3 separate regions of the Homo sapiens genome follow, and regions 1 and 2 are each linked to region 3. Evidence: promoter capture Hi-C in 16 types of primary human blood cells and fetal thymus (Javierre and others, 2016). All regions are on one chromosome and are shown on one strand. Each heading gives the region's core, a stretch centred on a gene start or on the middle of the fragment in contact. The rest is flanking DNA. Distances are from core to core; before and after follow the strand shown. Region 1 overlaps ILDR2 (immunoglobulin like domain containing receptor 2). Region 2 overlaps ILDR2 (immunoglobulin like domain containing receptor 2). Region 3 holds the start of GPA33-AS1 (GPA33 antisense RNA 1).

Region 1 (3,809 bases), core at 728-3,227, 120 kb before region 3:
GTCCTATATTCCAGCTATTAAGGACTTTTCAATGGGATGTAAGCTAGTGACCTAACTCCAGCATTCCCTGTTCCCAAAGTGGGGCAAACACCATAAAGAAACCATATGACTGCATGTAAATTCAGAGAAAACCCTGCTGTATAGTGTCTGGCCATGTTACCCTGGCTGCGGACAAAACCCTCCCACGCAAGCTATTTACATGGAAGATTAAAATATAAAATTCCATAGCACTCTAATTGTAGTCCAAGCACTAAAAACAGAAGTCACCCACACACCCATTTGCAGGTGCACCGATTTTCTATATGAGAATATACTGGGCAGTCCACATTCATCTCAAATTGTGGAATTACTTAGAAAAAAAATTAATGAATCTCAGCACACACTTTTTAGTGGCACTTTCTCCCAGAGGTTAGATCCATAATCCTTGTGTGGAAGCAATGATTAGCAGAAATAATTTTATTTATCAAGCTAAACATTCTTCCATCTCTACAAAGGCATTTACTGAGTCGTACAGACAGTTCAATTAAAATGCAATTATCCCACAGAACTGCTATGTCTGTTCTGGAGGCAGTTATGTCTGATGGATGAGACTCCAGCCTGGGAAGTGGGGAACTGGGCATTGTGTAGGCATGCAGTGCTATTTATTGAGGGACCTCAAAGAAATGGTGACCTATGTAGGACTCAGTTTTCATGTCTATAAAATGCAATGAATACTTGCCAACCTTTAAATAATCTCTTAAAGATGAGAGGACAACTAAGACCAAATCAGTGGAGCACTTTGAGTTCTCTATCATTATCAGGAGCTGCTCAAATGCTGCCTCAGCCAAAGGGCTTTCTTTGATTCTCATAGCTTGAAAAGTTCTGTCTCTCTCTCTAACTTACAAATCATTCAGTTTGAATTTTATTATGGCCCTTAATATATTCTAGTTTGTTTCAAGTTATCTGTATAAATGTCTAATCTTCTCAAAGATTCTTGAAGGAAAAGAATCCTTATGGTTCTGGATCTCCATGTGCCTAAAACCATGCTTTACACATAGTGGGGAACTTAAAAAATGTTCGTTGCATTGCTGTCAGCCTGGGAATTGGGGCAGGGTTAATGGTTTCTTTGAGAAGTGCATTTTCAGTAGAGTTTTCCCCTCTAGACTGCAAACTTCCTGAGAGCAAGGACTAGGTTCGCTTCTGTATCCCCAGCACCTAGCATAGAGCCTGGCACATTGTAGACATTTGAAATATGTGTGTTTGTAATGAATGAAGGAATGAGTGAATGAATGAGGAGAAACTGGGAATAGAAACCATATTATAAGAGACTACAACATATAGCAGATGAGGCCATATGGGCGGTTTATTGGAGAATTTTGATCAGGAAGGGAAAGGCTTGGATCGTAGAAAAGTCTGGGTATCATGATTATTATTATTATTAATTTTTTTAAGGAAAACTAGCATGTCTGTATGCATTATGAAAAGGGCCTACCCTACCTGGAGCTGTGGTTTTATCTAGGTGTTCTAATTTCTGAAGCACTGTTATGGTAAACATTCAGTGATACTGCACTAGAGGTCATGGGGGAGGGGGCCCATAAAGTTGTTGCTATATGGAACAATGTACCAGCTGTGCCCTGGCAGACAGACATGGTCGGTGAGAGATGGCTGCCACCCTGAGAAGCAGCTGGAGGATCCTCAGTTAATTGCCACTTGGACTAGAGCATAGTTTTCTATGTCATTATAACAAATTACACTCCTCATTATGATACAGATTTGATTGTGTATGCATAGGTTATCATGTCCCTGAAAAGTTACAGTAACCATTTATAGCCTCAAATGAAGATGATAGTTTTGCCTTCAGTGCTGGCATTATAAAGAGACTCCACTGTACCAGATACTTTCAGCCTTGACTTCTTAGTCACAGCAGCCCATGACTTCAGAAATCTAAATTCCTCTAATTTGTCAAAAAAGACAGAGGCAAAGTATTGATCTTTTGACTTTAGGAGTATCATCCATTTGGTTTCAGTAGCTAAAAACCTGGGCAATTCTCCTTCTAAAAGCTATTGGACTTTTTAAAAATGATAAGCTACAAGTTCAAATATACTAAACTATTCTCTGATCCTGGTAGAATCTGGCTCTATGTCACATACATTCTGAGGAGCATATGAAACACCAGAAAACCTTTCCTGGTCCCTCCTCTCCAAGGATGAGATTTTCCTTTCTGAGCTGGCATTATGGATCAATCTTATACTGCCTTGTATTACTTACTCATTTTATTTCCACTTACAAGCCCCAGCAACCACCTGGTAGACTGTACATTCCTTGACGGCAGGTAAAATTTGTTAGCGTTCATTAAATTTTTCTTGATTTGACAGCAAATAGCATGGTGTCAGATTGATTTTTATCTGTAATTTGTCTGAAGATCACAGAACTCTCTGGGACGTATGGTGATGTTTTAATAAGAAATGTCCTAGACTATTGGCCAAAGTTCAGCATATTTGGAAAATGACCTTTTTCCCCAGTGATGTTTCAGTTTAAGATTGATGGATGATTTATCTGTTTTCAAGTTCAGTCTGGCCCAAGTCATTTGGCTGCTGTGGCTCTTCATACTTCACCTCCTCTAATTTATTAGCCTTGCCAACTTCAATTTTTGGAGAGGGGATATTGGGATATTCACTTTGATGCCAAACTATAATTTTAAAAATTCTTATTGTTAAAGGATTTTTGCTGATACTTTTGACCCAATTAAGGTTTAGGTAGTTTTCAGCTAATTTCCTCATTACAGCCAAAATCCAACTTGTAAAACTTGCAAAAGAAGTCTCCGAGGCAGATACTCATGGATATAGCCTTGTTCTTCCTGTCCTATCTTAATAAGCTAAGTAAAGCTGTTTATGGATGATGGAACAGCTGCCAGATTCCACCCCCAAGGTGACAGCAGCTCAGCTGTGGGAGAAGTGATTCTTAAAATTTGCATATTCTCTGTATACATACAGTAGGCATATATATAGATACACATCCTTATTAATTTTGAAAATGACATTTCAAAACCCTACTTGCCTACTCAATTCTTTTGCATGAAGAATGGGTGGAGGACAGGTAGATGTGGAAACAAAATGGATTAGAGCAAAGCAGAGTAGATGTGGAAGGACCAGGTGGGAGATGATTGTGTTAAGCAAGGTGGGAGGTAATGGCAGCAAGGACTAGGACAGTTTCAGTAGAGATGGAGAAAAGGAAACCAACTCAAGGTTATTTTGAGTTACAATCTAAAGGACTTGGTGACCAATTGGATGAGGGAAGTGGGGGAGAAGGAAGGGATAAGGATGAAGTCTCTGCTTCTGGTTTGGGCTAAAAGGTGGACAACAATGCCATCCACTGAGATAAGATATGTAGAAGCTGGTTCGAAGTGAAGAAGCAGCAGATTAATTCAATTTCCTAGGGGCTGAGGTTGAAATGCCTGCAAAACACCCAGGTGGAGATGTCCAGAAGACAGTTGGATATACGGTATTGAGGAGCAAAAGAGAGGCTGGAGATAATGATCAGAAGTCATCAGCATATAGATGATGATTGAAGCCACAGGAGTGAATAAGGTTTCCCAGGGAGAGGACCTCAAACAAAACAGGAACATCTGGAGGATGTACAGTGGAAGAACACCCAGCATACACAGAGATAGGTAAGAAAAATTACAAAGTACAGTGCTGAGAAAGGCAAAGAAAGATGAGCGCCTCAGAGTGGCAAATGCTTTTGAGAAGTCAAAGGAGGTAATGATTGAAAAGGATCCATTAAATTTAGCAATCAGACAATCTTAGCAAGAGCTGGTTTCTGGAATGGTG
Region 2 (3,810 bases), core at 35-2,534, 100 kb before region 3:
AAATGTGCACCAACTGCCTTCTAGTCTCCTAATATTTGTAGTGAATGACCCTGAAATGTGTTCATGTTTTTGGCACTACTGCTCTACTTATGTAATTAAAATACAATTTTTGGATGTAGGAAATGTTGGAGATAACTGAAATTTTCAGCACCTTTTAAAGTTGCAACCGGAAAAAATGATCACTGAATACATCATAACACAGTATGGGCTAATTGAAAGGCATTCACCATGCTGCTACAAACTAATAAACAACAAAAATGATTGCAAAGTAATCTGACTTCACAAAGTGCTATAGTGATTCAACCTCCACCCCCAGAGAGCGAATAAATACAAAATATTATTAGAAATATAACATGGTCGACTTGGCCTGAGGTGAAATGCAGAAGACTGCTAGATTGACTTTAAAATGCCGTGGAGGAGCGTGGGATGTCATGGAACGGGGAAAGTGAGTTTCTTGGAGCCCAGTGTGGTGTCTTGAAGTCACTGTGCTCCATCCATCAGACTGCCACAGATACAAAGATAGCAAGAATGGCCACTTTCTTTAACCAAAAAAGGCCCTGGCGGTCTCAGGCAGACACAGAGGGGCACACACTTGGTAGGTCTCAAACTGTCAGAGTTCCTGCCCTTTCCTCCGTGGCCAGCCCCCTTAGTGTGAAGGGGTTGGCATGGGGCCTTTCCCAGACCCTCTCATGGGAAGCCAATTCAGCAAAGTCGGAGGCACAGCCCCCGTGTGAACGCAAGCCTGCACGCCTGAATAGCGGCAGCTGGCTTTGGAGAAAAATGGGACAACTGTCTCCTGCCCGGCTTTCAAGAGCTGCCATTCTTTCTTTCCAGGGGCTGAGCCAATTTCTCGGTGCCACCCACTCTCGCGCCTGCCCCCAGCCCCCGTTTCCTCCCCCGCTCGGGCCGGCGCGGGTCCACCCGACTACAATGCAGCGCGCGGCTGACCCAGCTGCTCCGGCTCCTGCCCGGGGTAACCACGGTAACCGCGGGCCGCCAGGAATGCGCGCTAATTGAAGGCCGAGTTTCCTCCCACAGTGATGAGCAACAAGTGAAGCAAAAATAGTGAGGCGGAATAAAGGCTGCGAGGAGGGGGCGGCGGGCGCGACCGGGGTGGCTGGGGGCTTAGGGAAGGGGAAATAGCGCCTGCAAGACCGCATTTGTTCTCTTAACACAGGGCAGTGAACGGCCGCGAACGACGTCATTTATGGTTCAAAAATCTTAGGGCAATTTTTTCAGAAAACAACTATTACGTCAAACCCCCACCTCTTTGCTGGGCCCCTCTGCTCGATTCAGGTACCTAGATGAATGGAGATGTACGTGCACATACATAGGTCCCCAGGAACGAAATGCCAGATAGCAGCAGGGTTCAGCAGGTGGAGGTGAGCCGACACTAATTTCCCCCCCAACCCTCTGGATCTTCTGTTCTCTTCAATCTATGGGAGACCCTTCAAGGTGGTCAGCAGCTAAAGATGGGTGACCATCATACCAGTTGGCCTAGACAGTTCCGGTTTATGCCTGTTGTCTTGCCAGAAATTATTAAAAGTCCCCCCTTTTCACTCTCAAGAGTATCCTAGTTTGGATGATAAGTTGTAAAGTCACCCTATCTAAAGTCTTCCCAAGCTCACCCAGATCCTAATCCAAGTCCAGTGTTCTTCAGATCCCTCCAGACTTCATCAAATGGCCTGGCCTGTGTGACCTAATCCTTGTATTTAGGTTAGGCAGTAAACACCCTGCAATTAACTAAGGGTCATCCACTGAGAAATGGGGGCTTCCAACAGCAACCAAAAGATAGCATGCTGGGACAGAATGCTTTCAAACCCACTAGCAGGAAGATTTCCACTGGGCTGATTAGGGTCACCACTGGCAAAATACAGTACAGATGTCATTGAGAAAATGTGAATCTATTAGCAATAGGATTGCCAATTCACAGATGGCCATTAAAGCCTCTGCCCGTGGAATGGGCTAAAGGAAAATCAGCTCTTTAGCAGGAGTCTCCAAATGTAGAATTCCCTAAAGAGGGTTCCCTCAGATTAGAGATGAAACGCTGGCGATGTGGTGTGGGGAGTGGTAAGGGGTGGGAGAAGGAAGCTAACATTTACTAAGTTCTTTGTGCATTTAATCTTCACAATAGGTCTTCCGTGTAAATTTTATTACCCCTCCCCATTTATTCAGCTAAGGAAACCCATGCTCATAGACGTTGACTTGTCCAAGTTCATATTGCTGCACTGAGTCCAGGGCTGTCTGACCCTGAAGCCTCTGCTGTTCACAGTGGACTTTATCCAATATCCAGAGAGACCTTTGGTCAAGATCAGTTTCACAGCCTCAGCACTATTTCTATCTGGAGCCAGATAATTCCTTTGGGGAATGGGAGAGCTGCCTTGCATATTGTAGAATGCTTAGCAGCCTCCCTAGTCTCTACCCACTAGATGCCACAGCATCCCACAAGTTGTGACAACCAAAAACTATCTCCAAACATTGCCAAATATCTCCTGGAAAGGCAACAATTGCCCCTTCTTGAGAATCAATGGCCTACATATTTAATATCCAAATACAGCTTTAATATCTTCTTGTATTGTTCTCTAACTGCTTCAGAAATATATCTTTTATCTTCACCAAAAGACAGTAATTTTTATAGAGACAAGACACTGTCATTTCTTTATTTTGTATCCTCACTGTGCTAGGGATATAATATGCAAAAAATAATCATTTTTTAAAATCATAATTTAAATACAAATCATACTTGAAGCAAAACTGACTCCACTCCATGGTGCCTATCAAAGAGCAAGGTTGAGATTATGGAGTAGAAAGGTCTGAAGGCCAAAGGAAGCTTCTTGCAAAGAATGAAAGGCATGATCCCACATCTTTGAAGGAACCACAAGCCCTACTCCACTCTTCATTCAGTAGAATGAATGTTATTGGCAGTCATTAACCAGAATCAGATTCTAGCTGACACTTGGCTAACTTTTCTGGCTCTTCCCTCTCCTCCATCCCTTCAATGCATTTTTTTTCTGGTTCTTTTTAAAAACAAGACCAGCAGAGGCATCTAGGTAAGCTCAGGGCAGAGCAGGCCAAAGCTAGGAGAGAGTGCTGGGAGAAAAGGCAGTGGGGCTGAGGCCTGAAAAGCCACTCCTCATTTGTTTTCTGTCTCTCATGGAAAACTATGGAGTTATTTCAGCTGTTCTGGAAACCTGAAGGCACAGGTGTCTGCTGATGATAGAAAGGATGATTCTGCTTTCTTTGGGGAATCAACTCTACTGACGCATAATCTGAAGCATATCTGATGCATAATTGAGTTTACAAATGAAAATGTAGGTACAGCTCAAGTCAAAAGATGTTCCAAAGAAGTAGCCTCCAAATTTATGGCGAAAGTGTGGCTCTGTAATTAATTCCTTTTCTCCCTTCTGCCAGGAGTAAACTTTTTCTTCCTTCTCCCTCATTCTTTTTCCCTCTTCCTCTGTTTGTAAATCTTAGAAAGAAACAGCAGCAGCCACTCTCAGAGATCAAAGTTTTAGCAGGCAACAAAGACCTCCAAGGAGGCTGTTGCCATGGGAACTCTGGGAGCTGAGGCCCTTTTAATCGTCAAATCTCCTTGGTTAGCGGCACCAGGCTGGGGCTGGCAAAGAGAAGGAGAAGGAGAGAGGGGAAACATTGGCAACAAGTAGCCTTTCTGAAGAGACTGAACTAAAGTCACAGGGGTAGGGGGTGGACAGGATTCAAACTGAGGCAGCAGTAACACAGGGGTAGGTGTGGGGGCATTTCTGCATAGCCTTAAGACACATGCTCCCATTAAACATCCCTAAAGTCAAT
Region 3 (4,404 bases), core at 584-3,083:
GATTATGAGATGTTCTATGGAAAAGGCCTAGAACAGTACCTGGCCCAGAGCAAGTGCTGCTGCTATAAGCATTGTACATCAGGCACTGTGAGCTTGGTTAATGTGACTCTGCATTTGAGAGCTGAGGCCCTGTCACTGTGTCACAAAAGCAGCTTAAGAACAAGACTTTTTGGGAGGGAGAGCATTAGGACAAATATGTAATGCATGTGGGGCTTAAAACCTAGATGACGGGTAGATAGGTGCACCATGGCACATGTATACATATGTAACAAACCTGCACGTCCTGCACGTGTATCCCAGAACTTAAAGTAAAATTAAAAATAAATAAATAAATAAATAACAAGATCCTGAAGAGTGGCTAATTTACCAAGCTGTGTATCAGTTCATGGATTCCTCTCTGGGCAGCCAGAGTCCCTCCTTAGGTGATAACATGAACACCTAACATTGGCATATGCCCAAGTATTTGAAACTGCGAGTGGGGATTATATGGAAAACTGTCTGAAGTGCCTAATAAGGGTTTATAGTACACAATCTTCCCTCAATTAATGGGTAGCATTTGTCTCTCTTCTAAAACACCATAAAGTCTTTGAACCAGCAGCTGGAAACCATAATTTGGGAAGGGATGCCTAACATTCTAAGGAGACTGCATTGCTGGGCTAATTTTGATTGTATAAGAACCTACAACAGTCCAATTCCCAGAGTCTGTGGACCGAAATAAATTCAGCAGGAAACTGTAGTCTTACTGAGTGATAATATGATTTGACACCCAAGTAATAGAAACATGCATTGGAGGACAGAAGAAATGTCAGCACCAGCCCTTTTCCACTTGTAAAACTCCTCATTCTTCTTCAAGATGCAGCCCAAATGCAACCTCCTCTCTGAAGCTTTCCTGAACTCCCTTAGGCTGAGTTACTCAGGCCCTCCTGTGTCCTGTAGCCCCTTCTCTTGCTCATGTAATTATGTTTCTATGTCTGTGACCGCCATTAGATTTTAGCTCCTCCTGAATAACAGTTTCTTAGTGACTTTTATATACTCTGCAAACAGCACACTGCTTGGCACGTAGTAGATGCTCACAAAATATTTGTTGTTGAATTAATGCAGTGGGTCTCGATTTCCCTCCTTTTCTTCCCTAAGCCTGGAGCTAAGGCAGGTGAACCTTCAGAGTCCTTTGAGGGGCAGAGAGAAGTCAAGTCAAACCTGGGGGAAGGTGGCCGCCTCTGCTTCCGTGGCTCCCTCAAGAACATGCTTGTGGAACCTTGCACCGTGAGGACTGGAAGGCACCTCAGAGTATCTAGAGAGCTAGGAGATGTCCTTGGGCAAGATACTGTGATACCAAATGTTATTCATTTAACAAACCTTTGTCAAGGGTCAACACATGCCAGGCCATAAAGAAGCTACAGTTCCTATCCTTACAAATCATACAGGGTGAGGCAGAGACAGACCTGTACACAGGTATAATAGGCACACAGTACTGTGTGACAAGTGCTCGGACAGGAGGGAGCACAGGAAAGGACACTGAAGAACAGACCTTGAATATCTCGCAGGAGAGTCCATGTCAAAGCCAAGAGCCCACAGCGGAGCGAAGTTGCCTTGGAGGAGGAAGCGTCACAGTTCTCTGTGACAGAACAAGAGGACTGCCCCGCCCCTTTCTCAGAAGGGGCATCATAGGAAGCAGAACTGGCTAGAGCATCTCCACCATCTTCCTTCAAGCACGTGGACCGACACCCAGGCCTCCTGGTGTCCTGACACTGCAGACTCCTGGAATATACCTCCACCAGCAGGCAGGAATCTGTCCTATTCCCAGCAACCACTAGAGGCACTGCCTGACCCTACTGCGGCCACAAGCAGAGGGACCCCAGGATTCTCAAATCTGTTACCTTGTCTCACCTCCCCTAGGAAGCAGAAGAGTGCTATGGTGAGTAGAGATGATCCATGAGACCCAAGCTTTATCTTACTGCAAACAAAATCCACATTAAAAAAGAAATAAGAATTTCCACCCACAATTTTATTATTACTGAAAGCATTTGGAATGAAGCAAAGGATTTAACAATATATATAAAAATATACATTTTTTAAAAAATCGCAAGTAGACAATAGATTTATGGAATTATTTTTCTGATCATCCAGAAAAGATAGCAATAGTAAACTGCAGTTGGGTGAGACCAGCCACTGGTCCATGAGACCTAAGCAGCCCTAACGCTGCCTGAGCTCTCAAGAGTAGAAGAAATGCTCGACAAACAGAAGGAGGCTGTGGGAGGGCAGCAGGACAGCCCCACCAGAAAACCAGAGCCCAAATGGGCTGGGCAGGGCCAGGGCTGAGGTATCGGGATGCAGGAACAACCAGGAACCCCATGTGGGTTGAGGAGACATGCCAATTATTCTGGCCTGGAGAGGAATTACCAGGACACAAGAACTCAGACCATCTGCAAGCAAGCTCCCTTGTGTGTGTTCACTTTAAATCAATTCGTGTTTAACTCACTGAATGAATACGTGGGTTTGGGTGGGAATCATCCCTGTGTCTACGATCATCTCAAGGAGACCAGAGAAGGGAAGGCACAACCAATCAAAGCAGTTTCCCCAATTAAGCTTAAGTGCCCACTAGGATGGGCGCCAGCTACTAGGGCTTCAGGGAAAGCAAAAGCCATGAGGCCCAGGCCCTGCCCCAAGGAGCTGGCGCTCTAATACAGTGAGAGCACTCGCTCAGAAGACTGTGCCTTGTGGCCCATGATTGGACGTGGGACAGAGTAACAGGATTGTTTCCACGTATGTGGACAATTAGGATAGGGTTAGAGAAATCCTTGTGATTTGAGATGGGCCTGGAGGGACAGGTACGATATTGACAGGCAGAGATGGAAAGTGTGTGGGCAAAAGCTCCCCAGGGCCTGTGCAGCAGGAGTGGGAGGTGGCCTTCCCAGGAGGGTTTGGAACATACTGGCAGCTACGGGAAGTGAGGTTGGAAAGGGAGTGGGAGCTGGAGGCCAGGCCAATGCAGGGCCCAAGCATACTCACTTATTCTTTCATTCATTCAAGAAAGATGTGTGGAGTGCAAACCCTCCACCTGGTGCCCCTCCAGGTGCTGGGCACACAGGTGAGCAGGACAGCCCCCACCCCCCAAGGCTGGCATCGCCTCCCTGGAGAGTTCTGAGTGGGAGCGCCCCATGCTCAGCGCTGTGCTTCCAGGAGCTCCTGCCAACTACGAGGGAAGTGGAGGCTGCAGCCTGGTCTTGAGTGAGGGCCAGGCCCGCACCAGGTGTCACAGCCAGGAGGGGTTACTTCACAGGACAGTGAGGTCAGCAGGATCAGCACAGGGACCCCCTTACCAGGCCAGCCATGTTCCCCACAGCTGACACTGGGGAAGAAATGTCCCCATCAATGTCTGGGATGGAGGGACAGGAGAACAGGGCTTAGAAAGGAGAAGGGAGGCCAGGAAGCGGGAGAATGAACCCCTAACCCTTCCTCCGCCGCCCTCTGCTGCTGGCCTGTCACTGGTCGAGGTGGTCCGGGGATTCACGCCCAGTGCTCCTCTGCTCTTCTTGCCTGTAGTCATCCTCCTCCTCCCTCTCTCTGGAAAGTTCTCTTAGCTGCTCTGGTGGCTCCTCATAGGCTTCCCGGTTCCTGCAGGGCAGCAGGGGACAGAGGGGAAGGATTTGCTCTCAGGTGGACCCTCAAGGGAGCTGGGCCTCATGTGCATTACAGGAAGAGCAGCCTCCAGACCTCCTCCCCACCCACCAGCTGCAGAGGACACTGGGCTGAAAGGCTGGGCTGAGAGTAAAGGTGCCACAGACTTGTTCCACGCATGAGCTGAGGGGGTTACAGGAACAGGCTGGCTTTACCAGCCCAGGAGGAACTGGCCCCGTGACAGGGGCTCCAGGCCACACTTGGCTCTAGTCATGCCACAGGAAGCCCGGCCCTGAGCTCCCAGACTGGAAAACCACAGGACTGGGAGGCAGGTCCTGGGGCTGCAATGCACATTTTATGGCTTGGACAGGTCATTGTTTCATCAGCACAAAATGGGGGTGATATACCCCAAGGGGTGCTGCAAGTAGAAGAGGCTGTGAGGAATTGGGAAGCATATTTCCAGTCTCCCCAGACCCTTCCAACAGGCTACCAGCCCAGACACTCACGGCCTTGCATCCTCCTTGTCTTCAGTGTTGTCGTCCTTCCCTCGGCAGCAGCAGCAGTAGATGATGATGCCAATGATAATGAGGGCTGCAACCACGCCCACCGCGATGCCCACATACAGGGCCACGTTCATGGAGGCTGCAAGAGGACAGAGCAGCTGCACTTGCCGAGCTTCTAAGCTAGCTCCGGGTCTCCTCCCAGCCAGGGGAGCAGCAGCTACCAGCTTCTGGTAACACTCCATGAAAGGCATGGTCTTGGAGGAATGTGACCAGCCATGGCCCA

Evidence for each region. The method cuts DNA at HindIII sites, captures the fragments that hold promoters and counts their contacts. A CHiCAGO score of 5 or more calls a contact.
Region 1: a contact is called between a fragment that was not itself captured here and the fragment with the promoter of GPA33-AS1 in region 3, in 12 of 17 cell types (naive CD4 T cells, naive CD8 T cells, activated CD4 T cells and 9 more). The highest score is 10.3, in naive CD4 T cells.
Region 2: a contact is called between a fragment that was not itself captured here and the fragment with the promoter of GPA33-AS1 in region 3, in 9 of 17 cell types (total CD8 T cells, naive CD4 T cells, naive B cells and 6 more). The highest score is 7.0, in total CD8 T cells.

The regions. Positions count from the first base shown.
Region 1 is chr1:166,928,477-166,932,285 of GRCh38, forward strand. All of the region lies in intron 6 of ILDR2 (immunoglobulin like domain containing receptor 2), which reads right to left. All of the region lies in intron 1 of LOC124904449 (a long non-coding RNA gene), which reads left to right. Among named protein-coding and RNA genes, the nearest start is that of ILDR2, 45 kb to the right of the region's middle. The HindIII fragment of the contact is 4,242 bases long and covers 1-3,809 here.
Region 2 is chr1:166,946,778-166,950,587 of GRCh38, forward strand. All of the region lies in intron 3 of ILDR2 (immunoglobulin like domain containing receptor 2), which reads right to left. The region is part of intron 1 of LOC124904449 (a long non-coding RNA gene); the gene reads left to right. Among named protein-coding and RNA genes, the nearest start is that of ILDR2, 27 kb to the right of the region's middle. RefSeq lists silencers at 868-917, 3,415-3,709. The HindIII fragment of the contact is 3,088 bases long and covers 1-2,828 here.
Region 3 is chr1:167,050,852-167,055,255 of GRCh38, forward strand. It overlaps GPA33-AS1 (GPA33 antisense RNA 1), which reads left to right and starts at 1,834. Exons shown (of 6, transcript XR_922249.3): 1 at 1,834-1,915. GPA33 (glycoprotein A33) reads right to left here. Exons shown (of 7, transcript NM_005814.3): 6 at 4,125-4,260; 7 at 1,985-3,615. The coding sequence ends at 3,483. The HindIII fragment of the contact is 1,060 bases long and covers 883-1,942 here.